Regions from separate parts of the Homo sapiens genome. Here all the other regions are linked to region 1. The links are contacts of gene promoters, found by promoter capture Hi-C in human tissues and cell types (Jung and others, 2019). All regions are on one chromosome and are shown on one strand. The core of a region is centred on a gene start or on the middle of the fragment in contact, and the rest is flanking DNA. Distances in the headings are between cores, read along the strand shown.

Region 1 (3,634 bases), core at 522-3,021:
GTGAGCCACCGCACCCGGCCTCATGTCTTTTTTTTTTGTTTTTTACAATACAGCATGTTCTAACTTTACTTTTCATTCACATTGCTGCATTTTAGCAAGGGTCCTCAGACATTTTCCAAAATTCCTTAATTGAACTCCTAACAGACCTATTTTTACTCTTAGTCCTCCAATCTATTCTGCACAATAGTGGTAGATTAAAATTTACATTTCTTTACACTGAATTCAAAACCTTCACGACTTTCCACCTCTTACAAAATCAAGTTTTGACTCCTTAGCCTAAAAGACTTTAAAATCTACCTCCAATTTACTGTTCTAATATACCTCTTTCCAATTCTGCTCAGAAAACTCTACAGGCACATGTCTTTGCTCTTTGTCCTTTCCACTTTGCCCTTTATCCTTTGTCCTTCTTTAGTCTCTTTTGAGTTTATGTTGTTCCTCTAACCTAGAACACAACAGTTTCTCCCTCTTATCTAAACCCTCCACATCCTTCAAAGCCAAATTCATGTCCCATTTCCTCAAAAAAACTTTCCCTACCAGGGAAAGGACTTTGTGTTGATTCCTTGGCATTTATTATGAGCCACTTTTTATTCAGTATGATTTTCATATACTCTCCTTTCTGATTAAATTATAGAAGTCTTTAAGGGCAGGAACTATCTTTTACCTCCTTATAGTCTCAGTACCTAGCACCATGCCTTGCACATAGCAGAAATTTTTATTAAGTATTATACTTGAATATTTCTGAATAATTATTAAACAATATTGGTGTAGCTTTTGTTACATACCCCAAAACACATATATCTTGTATCACTATAAAATTACAAAATGTAGATAAGATAGAGTATTACACTTGTTTCTCCATAATATGAATCAGTACGTGTGAACTAAAATATTTTATGCAATTTTTTATTCCATAACAATTTTTTCTTTTGACTTAGATGATTAAGGCAAAAGAAGCAAACCTTTAGAAACTTTATTTCTCTCATCGCAATTTTGTTGACAGATTGTTCTGGTCTCTCATAAAATATCTTAATGGCCACTATCTGCCCAGTATTCTTATGTTTACATTTCATGACTGTTCCGTAACTTCCCTCTCCCACTTTTCCAAGGGTTTCATACATCTCCATTTTCAAGCTGGGCTTTTACTACTTTATAGAAATAAAGAAAGAAAATGGAAAATGTTAAACGTTTATACTTTTATTTATTAAAACTAGATAATGCATATCCACAATAAACCCACAGTCTCAAATATAGAGACATTAAAAAAAAAAAAGGAATCTTTTCCACTGAGCCTTTTTGTCTTTGGGAACTAAAGACAGCTTGAGTAAGGTGTCCTTCTGAGGCTCCACCTCTCACCAGAACTTAGGGGTACTCCTGCTGTCTCGGTCATGCCCATCAACACTGAGACTACCACACTATAAGTCACCATCCATCAAGCATGGGGTCCCTACACTTCCTGTCATGTTCCTGTCAAATAATAGGTTCCCGCACTACTGCAGTCGCCCACTTATCAGGCCCAAGGTCCTAAAAAAAGCCTGGTCTCGCCCGCAACTCAAACCACACGTCTTAGGATGCCGGACCGGCGTCACGCCCCACGTCCCGCTGTTGACTTTATCCAAACAGCCGCCGCCGCCTCAGCCCATTCTGTGGTCCCGCTGGTCTGGCTCTGCGTAGTTCCAGTGGAGCCACCGAACACTGATACTACTTTGTTGCTCAGCCCCGCAAGGAACCGGCCACTTGCCACCATGGAAACGCCGGCGGAGTTGCTGCGTTCTAGACTCGTGCGCAAGACCGGAACATGGGCAGGGTCCCGACCCGGAAGGGGAAGTGGGAAGAAACGGAAACCTACTCTGGGTAGGCGCAAGGTGGAAGAGTGCTGTGCTTGGGAATGGGGGAGGGGAGTACAGATTGCTGTCGCAGCTGAGCCTCCTCACAAGGTTGCTTTTGAATGTGGATAGGAAGGATCTGCATCTTTTTTTTTTTTTTTTTTTTTTTTGAGATAGTCTAGCTCTGTCGCCCAGGCTGGACTGCAGTGTCGCTGATCTTGGCTCACTGCAACCTCCTCCTTCCAGGTTTAAGTGATTTTCCTGCCTCAGCCTCCCGAGTAGCTGGGATTACAGGCGTGTGCCACCACGCCCGGATAATTTTGTATTTTTAGTAGAGACGGGGTTTCTACCATGTTGGCCAGGCTGGTCTCGAACTCCCAACATCAGGTGATCCGCCTGCCTCGGCCTCCCAAAGTGCTGGGATTACAGGCGTAAGCCACCGCCCCCGGTCAAGATGGTTCTTAAATCAAAAACTTTTCTTGAACACTTGCCATATGCCTTTTAATTTTTTCCAACTGCTAGTAATCTTTTTTAAAGAAAAAAAACCTCCCTCACCACATGTCAAACTCTAGGAAAGCAAGTAATTCGAAGAGTTCCACCATATACGAAATGATGTACAAGAGCACGGAAATAAAGAGGCCAGTGTCTAACTGCTTAAGTAGACATAGAGTTCAACTGGAATGACAGTCCCTAATGAATAACCACCATATCACTAGACCAAGTGCCTAGGGAGTGCTTTCTTTATTGAATAGGGCTTTCTTTGCTTTCTTCTATAAAATGAGTTAAATGTAAAAAAGCGAAATCTCGCTATGCTTCCGCTAAATAAGAGGAAAGGCATTATTTAATAAATCTAGTCTGGTGGGTCCCACCCAGCATGCATATTTAAATCACACCTGGAGAGCTTTTAGAAAGCATCCCAACCCCCACCTCCACACCCCTGCCCCAATGCCAGAGCACCTGATTTAATTGGGATAGCGTAAATAAATTAGTATTTTTGAAGCTTCTCAAGTTTTTTCTATGCTGCTAGGGTTTATATTGAGAGAAAGGAGAAGTGGTCATCGTTTTCATTGATCACCTAAAATATTCAGAATTGTCTTTTCTTTGAAGGTTATTCAGACGGGCGCAGTGGCTAACGCCTGTAATCCCAGCACTTTGGGAGGCCCAGGCGGGCGGATCACGAGGTCAGGAGATCGAGACCATCCTGGCTAACACGGTGAAACCCCATTTCTACTAAAAAATAGAAAAAATTAGCTGGGCGTGGTGGCGGGCGCCTGTAGTCCCAGCTACTCGGGAGGCGGAGGCAGGAGAATGGCGTGAATCCGGGAGGCGGAGCTTGCAGTGAGCGGAGATCGCACCACTACATTCCAGCCTGGGTGGCAGAGCGAGACTCCATCTCAAAAAAAAAAAAAAAAAAAAAAAGAAAGTTATTCAACCACAATATAAAATACCTTCTATAAATAAGAATGTCATAGTAAATCTTATAGTGGGCTCAAACTTGGTGTAAGCATATTATTTGTTGTGGGCTAAATATTTGCAAGGAGGCTGCGCACAGTGGCTCACACCTGTAATCCCAGGGAGGCCAAGGTGGGCAGATCACTTGAGCCCAGGAGTTCCAGACCAGCCTGGGCAAGAGGGCAAAACTCCATCTCTACAAAAAATTAGCCGGGCATGGTGGTGCACACCTGTGGTCCCAGCTACTTGGGCGTCTGAAGGAGAATTACTGGAGCCCAGAAGGTCAAGGCTGCAGTGAGCCCTGTTCACACCACTGCACTCCAACCTGGGTGACAGAGCAAAACTCTGTCTCAAAAAAT
Region 2 (3,634 bases), core at 453-2,952, 250 kb after region 1:
GAGCAACGTCAAAAAATTAAAAAATGACTTACACCTAATATTTAAGACCACTCTGTAGTCTCTTCCAGTTATGCTGGTTTTTGTTGGGTTTTTTTTCTGTGTTTTTTGTTTTTTTCGAGACAGAGTCTCCCTCTGTCGCCCAGGCTGGAATGCAGTGGCGCCATCTTGGCTCACTGCAACCTCCGCCTCCCGGGTTCAAGCAATTCTCCTGTCTCTGCCTCCCGAGTAGGTGGAATTACAGGCACGTGCCACCGTGTCCGGCTAATTTTTGTATTTTTAGTACAGAACGGGTTTCACGATGTTGGCCAGGTTGGAAATTACGCTGTTTTTGCAGACAATTTTATCTACTCAATTTCACCATGATCATTTTTTCTTTAACAGAATTGTTCTTATATCAGAATCTTACTTGCCAAGCCCCACTTTTTTCTCCTAATATAAAAAAAAGATTTGTTGGCCGGGCGCAGTGGCTGACGCCTGTAATCCCAGCACTTTGGGAGGCCGAAGCGGGCAGATCACGAGGTCAGGAGATCGAGACCATCCTGGCTAACACAGTGAAACCCTGTCTCTACTAAAAATACAAAAAATTAGCCAGGCGTGGTGGCGGGCACCTGTAGTTCCAGCTACTCGGGAAGCTGAGGCAGGAGAATGGTGTGAACTTGGGAGGCGGAGGTTGCAGTGAGTCGAGATCGTGCCACTGCACTCCAGCCTGGGTGACAGAGCGAGACTCCATCTCAAAAAAAATAAAAAGAAAAAAAAGATTTGTCAATTTCCTTTTCCAACCTCACTAATTGTTTTATAGATAAAATACTTTGTTTTGTTCTATCCTCATTCTTTGTTCTTTGAACATTTACTGGACTAAATAATTACAGTATTATCTACTTTTTGGTCCAGTTCTCAATTTTATATTCATTATTAAGGCTACACTTACTATTTCATAATTAATCTATAGATTAACTTGTCTTTAAACTCTGTGTCTATCTGATTCATAAAATTTTCACCTGTAAAAGTAAGGTCACAGGTTAAATTAGGTTTCTGTTTCTAATAATTTACCCACTTTAACATTAACTTTATTCTCAAATTCGTTACATAACCTTAAATGCAAAATAAAATTTATTAAATAATTTACAGAGTCAGCCAAGTGTGGTGGCTCACGCCTGTAATCCCAACACTTTGGGAGGCCAAGGCAGGTGGATCACTTGTGGCCAGGAGTTCGAGACCAGCCTGGCCAACATGGCGAAACCTGGTCTCTACTAAAAATACAAAAATTAGCTGGGCTTGGTAGCACATGCCTGTAATCCCAGCTATTCCAGTGGCTGAGGCAGGAGAATTGCTTGAGCCCAGGAGGCAGAGGTTGCAGGGAGCCGAGATGGTGCCACTGCACTTCAGCCTAGGCAACAGAGTGAGACTCTGTCTCAAAAAAGGAAAAAAAAAAAATTAGAGTCATTATTAAAAAACATTATTTTTGGCCAAGTGTGGTGGCTCATGCCTGTAATCCCAGCACTTTGGGAGACTGAGGTGGGCGGATCATCTGAGGTCGGGAGTTTGAGACCAGCCTGGCCAACATGTTGAAACCCCGTCTCTACTAAAAATACAAAACATTAGCTGGGTGTGGTAGCACATGCCTGTAATCTGAGCTACTTGGGAGGCTGAGGCAGGAGAATTGCTTGAACTCAGAAGGCAGAGGTTGCAGTGAGCCGAGATCGTGCCATTGCTCTCCAGCGTGGGCAACAGAGCAAGACTCCATCTCAAAAAAAAAAAAACTTTCAATTTTTTTGGTATTTTTTGTTTCTTTAGAGACAGGGTCTCACTCTGTTGCCCAGGTTAGGAGTGCAGTGGTGCAATCATAGCTCAGTGAAGCCTTGAACACCTAGGGTCAAGTGATCCTCCTGCCTCAGCCTCCCAAGTACCTAGGACTACAGGTGTATGCCACCATGCCAGACTAATTTTTTGTTTTTGTTTTTGTAGAGATGGAGTCTCAGTATGTTGCCCAGGCTGGTCTTAAACTCCTGGGCTCAAGTGATTCTCCTGCCTCAGCCTCCCAAAGTGCTGGGATTACAGACATGAGCCACCACACCCACCCTTGTTTTAAAACTTCCTGTGTGTCAATATATGCCTTGTTTTCTTTAGATTAATTCTGTGGTGTACATTAGATATTGTTGAGGTTATTAAGACTAGAAAAATAACTGGTTAACAAATTGAGTTACCAGCCATGTATAAAATTGTAATGTATCTACTGAATTAGTGCTTAAAATAGTACATGGTGCAATGGCTCCTATCTTTAATCCCAACACTTTGGGAGGCAGAGGCAGGAGGATCACTTGCACCTGGGAGTTTAAATGGTGCGCTATGATCATACCACGGCACTCCAACCTACATGACAGAGCAAGACCCTGTCTCTACACAAATAAAATAAAGTAATATGGCTTTAAAATCTGAAAGAAGCCTGGGCGCGGTGGCTCACACCTGTAATCCCAGCACTTTGGGAGGCCGAGGAAGGCGGATCACAAGGTCAGGAGATCAAGACCATCCTGGCTAACACGGAGAAACCCCGTCTCTACCGAAAATACAAAAAATTAGCCGGGCGTGGTGGTGGGTGCCTGTAGTCCCAGCTACTCGGGAGGCTGAGGCAGGAGAATGGCGTGAACCCGGGAGGTGGAGCTTACAGTGAGCGGAGGTCGTGCCACTGCACTCCAGCCTGGGCGACAGAGTGAGACTCCACCTCAAAAAAAAAAAAATCTGAAAGAAAAAATTCAGGTTATGTAAACAAGGCGATGGTGGACTATTTACCAATCATGTCACAATCCCTCAGACAAAAACTTTTTAATTCCTCAAGCTAGAGAAGGGAGTACTAGCTGATAAAAAGGTATGAGTACTAATTCAAGATCTAAATATTCTCCCTGGGAGCGAGGTCACCTATAATTTATTATTTTAGGAACAGGTCAAATCACCTGATCATAATTTATCTACCAGAAAATGCCCCCCAAACAAAAAACTTGGCCAGGTGCAGTGGCTCACGCCTGTAATCCCAATACTTTCGGAGGCTGAGAGAGGCTGATCACTTGAGCTCAGGAGTTCAAGACCACCCTGGGAAACATATCGAAACCTGGTCTCTGAAAAAATATAAAAATTAACTGGGCATGGTGGCACATGCCTGTGGTCCCAGCTACTTGGGAGACGGGAGGATGGCTTAAGCCCAGGAGACAGAGGTTGCAGTGAACTGTGATCATACCACTGCATTGCAGCCTGGGCAACAGAGAAAGACCCTGTCTGAAACAAAACACTTTTGGTTAGTGCATATGACTCAGCATCATTTGATCAAGTATCACATTGTATGTAGGAATATACTTACTGGGATGTAATGTTGGGACATGTTGTCCAAGTCTGTCATCTTTTAGCATGTGTAGCAATGTTGTTTTTCCTGCATTATCCAATCCAAGAAATACCAGTTTACCAGTTTTCTTATATAATCCTGCAAAGCAAGAGCTATGATTGGTCAAAGTGATATCTGATACTAATTATCCAAATGAATTTAAATTTGGCCCAATTAAGCTTGAAGTTCTAAACCTATTTTCAGTTTTAAAAAAGCTATTTTAAATCTATTCATGGCCGGGCACGGTGGCTCACACCTGTAGTC
Region 3 (3,634 bases), core at 1-2,500, 210 kb after region 1:
GCGCCTTCCCCACCTGCCGCCGCCACCTCCCTGTGCCCTCTCTTGCGGGGCTGGGTCCCAAGGAGGGTGTGTCTTTGGATCCTGGTGGGGGTATGTGCGTGGAGCCAAGGGCCACTGGCCCCCACTCCTACCCTTCACCATCCAATTAGTAGGCCCAGACGGGGGCCTGCAAGGGTCCTGAGTTGTGCGTCACTAGGCAGAGAGCCAGAGGTTGGAATGTGGGCATCAGGCCTGCCCTCAGGGAGCTTTCTGGTTGACTAGGCCACAGCAGTTCAGGAGCTGATTGCATGTGAACAGGTACAGAGAAGAAGTCCTAGTGGCTCTCTGCTGGTGCTGAGGCAGGAAGGGCCAGAAGCTGGTGAGCTTCCCTGAACCCTGGTGTGCCTGGGAGTCAGTTCCGAAGAAGGCAGCTGTCCCAGAGATGTGACAGGACCTGGCTGTTGTTTCTCTCTGACCCTAACAGGATTTATGCCCTGCATCCGCGGTGTTTTTCACTGTTTCATTCTTATTATTCTTATTCTCTTGGCGTCACATGCGTTTAGTGGATCTGGAAATCAAAGGCTGAAGGAAGCGCTGACATTGATCGTATCTGTTAATTGTGGATATTGCCAGACACAGGGCCCTTCTTGGAGCGTATACATGTTAAGAAGGGCAACACTTAGCCCCCAAAACAGTACCCCAGTGTTGCGTTTACATGCAGCAGAAATAGCTGGATGGAGAGAGATTTTGAGCCAGGGTCTGCCAATGCCACTTCAGCCTCAGGGCTGAGCTGGGCCTGGAGAGGAAAGCTGCTGAGCCACCGTTGGAGCAAATGACTGAGGACCTCTGCTGCCCCTACTTCTGCCCCAGAGCTGAGCTGACCTGATTGTGCTTTGGCATCACCACCCACTCTGGCCCCAACATCTAGCCTTGCCAAGTTCAGGTGCTAGTCATGACCATGTAGAGCTCACCGTGTACCCAAAGACTGTGGCAGCTTCCTGGCTGCTGGAGCTTTCCAGGCCCCCTATCTTCTGTTTATTCACTCAGCCAGCATTAACTGAGCATGGACTGGATAGGGTTGCTGCCCTTGTGGAATGCACCATCTGGAGAGAGAGAGGAATGTGGTATCGCAGACGCTACAGTTGCTGCCAGTTTAGGGATAGAAGTATCAGGGATGTCTTCCCAGAAGCAGTGATGCTCCAACAACATCTCAGGCACTTGGCTGTGGCCACATATCGGCTGCAGAAGGAGAAGCCCATGCAAGGCACCCACAGTTGAGGAAGCAGAGGGTGGCAAGCCACGAGCAGTGCCCTCAGGCACAGGATTCCAGAAGCATGGGCAAGAGCCTGGAGGGTCCACATCCCCACATTGGTTCTGGGGACATTTGCAACTCCTTGTCTTGAGTGTCAACAACAGGCAGCTCTTTGTTCAGGGCAGGGCAGGGTATTTGGAGATGACTGGTTTGCCCTGTCCAAAGCTGCTGCTCACACTGTTGAGAGGCTTGACGCCTGGGGTGGGACATGGGCTGTGTGCATATCGGCGAGGCTGTCTGGCCTGGCGGCTGGACAAAGCCTCCTAGTGGAGATGATATTTGGCCTGTGAACTGAATCAGGTGAAGGATAGGAGAAGAAAACAGCATATTTGGAGACTTAGTGGCCAGAGCATGTCTTGGCAGAGAAACTGGAAGGAGGCTGGAATGGCTGCACCAGGCAGAAGGAAGACTCCTAAAGTGGGGATGACGGGTAACCTGGGTCACATGTGCGAGATCTTCTTGTAGCCTGGGGGAGGAGCTTACACTGTCCTGAGAGCAGTGGGGAGCCTCAGGAGCCTGCCTCCAGAGTATCTAGGCATTAGTTACATGCCATGTTACAGATGAGATTGCCCAGGCACAGTGGCTCATGCCTAAAATCCCAGCACTTTGGGAGACCACAGTGGGAAGATCACTTGAAGCCAGGAGTTCCAGACCAGCCTGTCTCTACAAAAAAAAAAAAATACAAAAATTAGCTGAGCATGGTGACACATGCCTGTATTCCTAGCTGCTTGGGGAGCAGAAGTAGGATTGCTTGAGCCCAGTAGTTTGAGGCTGCAAGCGAGCTATGATTACACCACTGTACTCCAGCCTGGGTAACAGAGCCAGGCTCTGTCTCTAAAAAATAAATAAATAAACAGATGTGGCCAGGCACAGTGGCTCGCACCTGTAATCCCAGCACTTTGGGAGGCCAAGGTGGAAGGATTACTGGAGCCCAAGAGTTCAAGACCAGTCTGGGCAAAATAGCAAGACCCTGTCTCTACAAAATTTGAAAATTAGCCGGGTGTGGTGGCATGCACCTGTGGTCCCAGCTACTCAGGAGGCTGAGGCTGGAGGATCGCTTGAGCCTGGGAGGTCAAGGCTGCAGTAAACTATGATTGTACTACTGCGCTCCATCATGGGCAACAGAGCAAGACTCTCTCTCAAAACAAACCAAAACAGATGAGACTGAGGCCTGGCCTGAACTGAAAGGATACAAGGGCCAGGGGTGCACCCTGAATCTCCCATCTAGTTTGCTGCCTGACTTTGAAAGCCAACCAAGAGACCATGGCAGGAGACTGGTTCAGGGTTGCTGACCCTGGGGTTAGGAATGGAACCCAAGCCTCTTGACCCCTCAGGTAGTGTTCCTTCCACCTACATGTCTAGCTCCTCAGCCTGGCATTCAAGGCCCTGCCCTGTCCAGACTCCCTTCCAGCCATTCTTCCCACCACCCACACTCTCTCCCAAGACTACAGGTTGTGCAGGTCAGACTGGAGTCCAGGTCCTGCGAGGGCCTCTCCTCGTGGCCCTGTGGCCACCCCAAGTCCCCCACAGGCCACAGTGGACAGTTGGTCCACCCCACCATGCCAGCCATCCCCTAACTCCAACCTTTTTGCTGTGGAGGGTGAGCACTGGCTGATGGAGGACTCCTGGGCTGCCACGCAGGGATCTTGGTGCTGACCGAGGCCACTCAGGGTAACCATCTCCCTCCTCCTCTCACTTTCCCTGACACAGAGCGGTCTGGGAGGAGAGCAAAGGGCAAGAAGAGTGACTCGAAGAGGAAGGGCTGCGAGGGCTCCAAGGGCAGCACTGAGAAGAAAGAGAAAGTGAAGGCGGGGCCTGACTCAGTCCTGGGGCAGCTGGGTGAGTGAGGGCCATGCTGGCCTGCAGACACGGCAGGCTTGACCATCACCACGCTTGCAGCTCTGTCTGCCCTGCGGAAGGCCAGCTGCACAGAGTAGGAGACTGAGGCTCAAGAGCGGTAACCAGGCCCTTGCTTGCCCAGGTGCACACACCTTCCACCCACAAAGGAGACAGATCTCAGAGCCCCGTGTGACATCCTGGGAAATGCCCCGTCTGTAGACCTGGATGGAGGCTGGGCCACGCCCACTCAGGAACTGTCCAGTCATTCCCCTGGCTGGGGGGTCCTGGGTGCTGGATTTTCCCAGAGGCCCCTGGGACAGCCCCATGCTGGGAGGGGAGGATCTGCCAGAAAGCCCCATCCTTGTCCTACTCTCCCAGAATCCTCTAAGTGGGCCCTTCCTGCAACAGCAGCAGACTCTCCTGGAGCTGCCCAGAGGAGTGGCTGCAGGCTCTGGCCCTGCCCACCACCTCCACTGTCCCAGGCCTCCTGTTAGGCAGAGCAGC

Evidence for each region. The method cuts DNA at HindIII sites, captures the fragments that hold promoters and counts their contacts. A contact is called where the count stands out against the background at its distance.
Region 2: a contact is called between a fragment that was not itself captured here and the fragment with the promoter of CDKL3 in region 1, in 1 of the 25 tissues and cell types used here (dorsolateral prefrontal cortex).
Region 3: a fragment that was not itself captured here is called in contact with the fragment with the promoter of CDKL3 in region 1 in 2 of the 25 tissues and cell types used here (dorsolateral prefrontal cortex and spleen).

The regions. Positions count from the first base shown.
Region 1 is chr5:134,365,400-134,369,033 of GRCh38, forward strand. CDKL3 (cyclin dependent kinase like 3) reads right to left here and starts at 1,772. Exons shown (of 13, transcript NM_001113575.2): 1 at 1,578-1,772; 2 at 960-1,145. The coding sequence starts at 1,124. The HindIII fragment of the contact is 10,082 bases long and covers 1-3,634 here.
Region 2 is chr5:134,617,584-134,621,217 of GRCh38, forward strand. SAR1B (secretion associated Ras related GTPase 1B) reads right to left here. Exons shown (of 7, transcript NM_016103.4): 3 at 3,350-3,469. Among named protein-coding and RNA genes, the nearest start is that of SAR1B, 13 kb to the right of the region's middle. The HindIII fragment of the contact is 7,270 bases long and covers 1-3,634 here.
Region 3 is chr5:134,573,767-134,577,400 of GRCh38, forward strand. JADE2 (jade family PHD finger 2) reads left to right here. Exons shown (of 12, transcript NM_001388185.1): 11 at 3,002-3,130. Among named protein-coding and RNA genes, the nearest start is that of JADE2, 50 kb to the left of the region's middle. The HindIII fragment of the contact is 9,141 bases long and covers 1-3,634 here.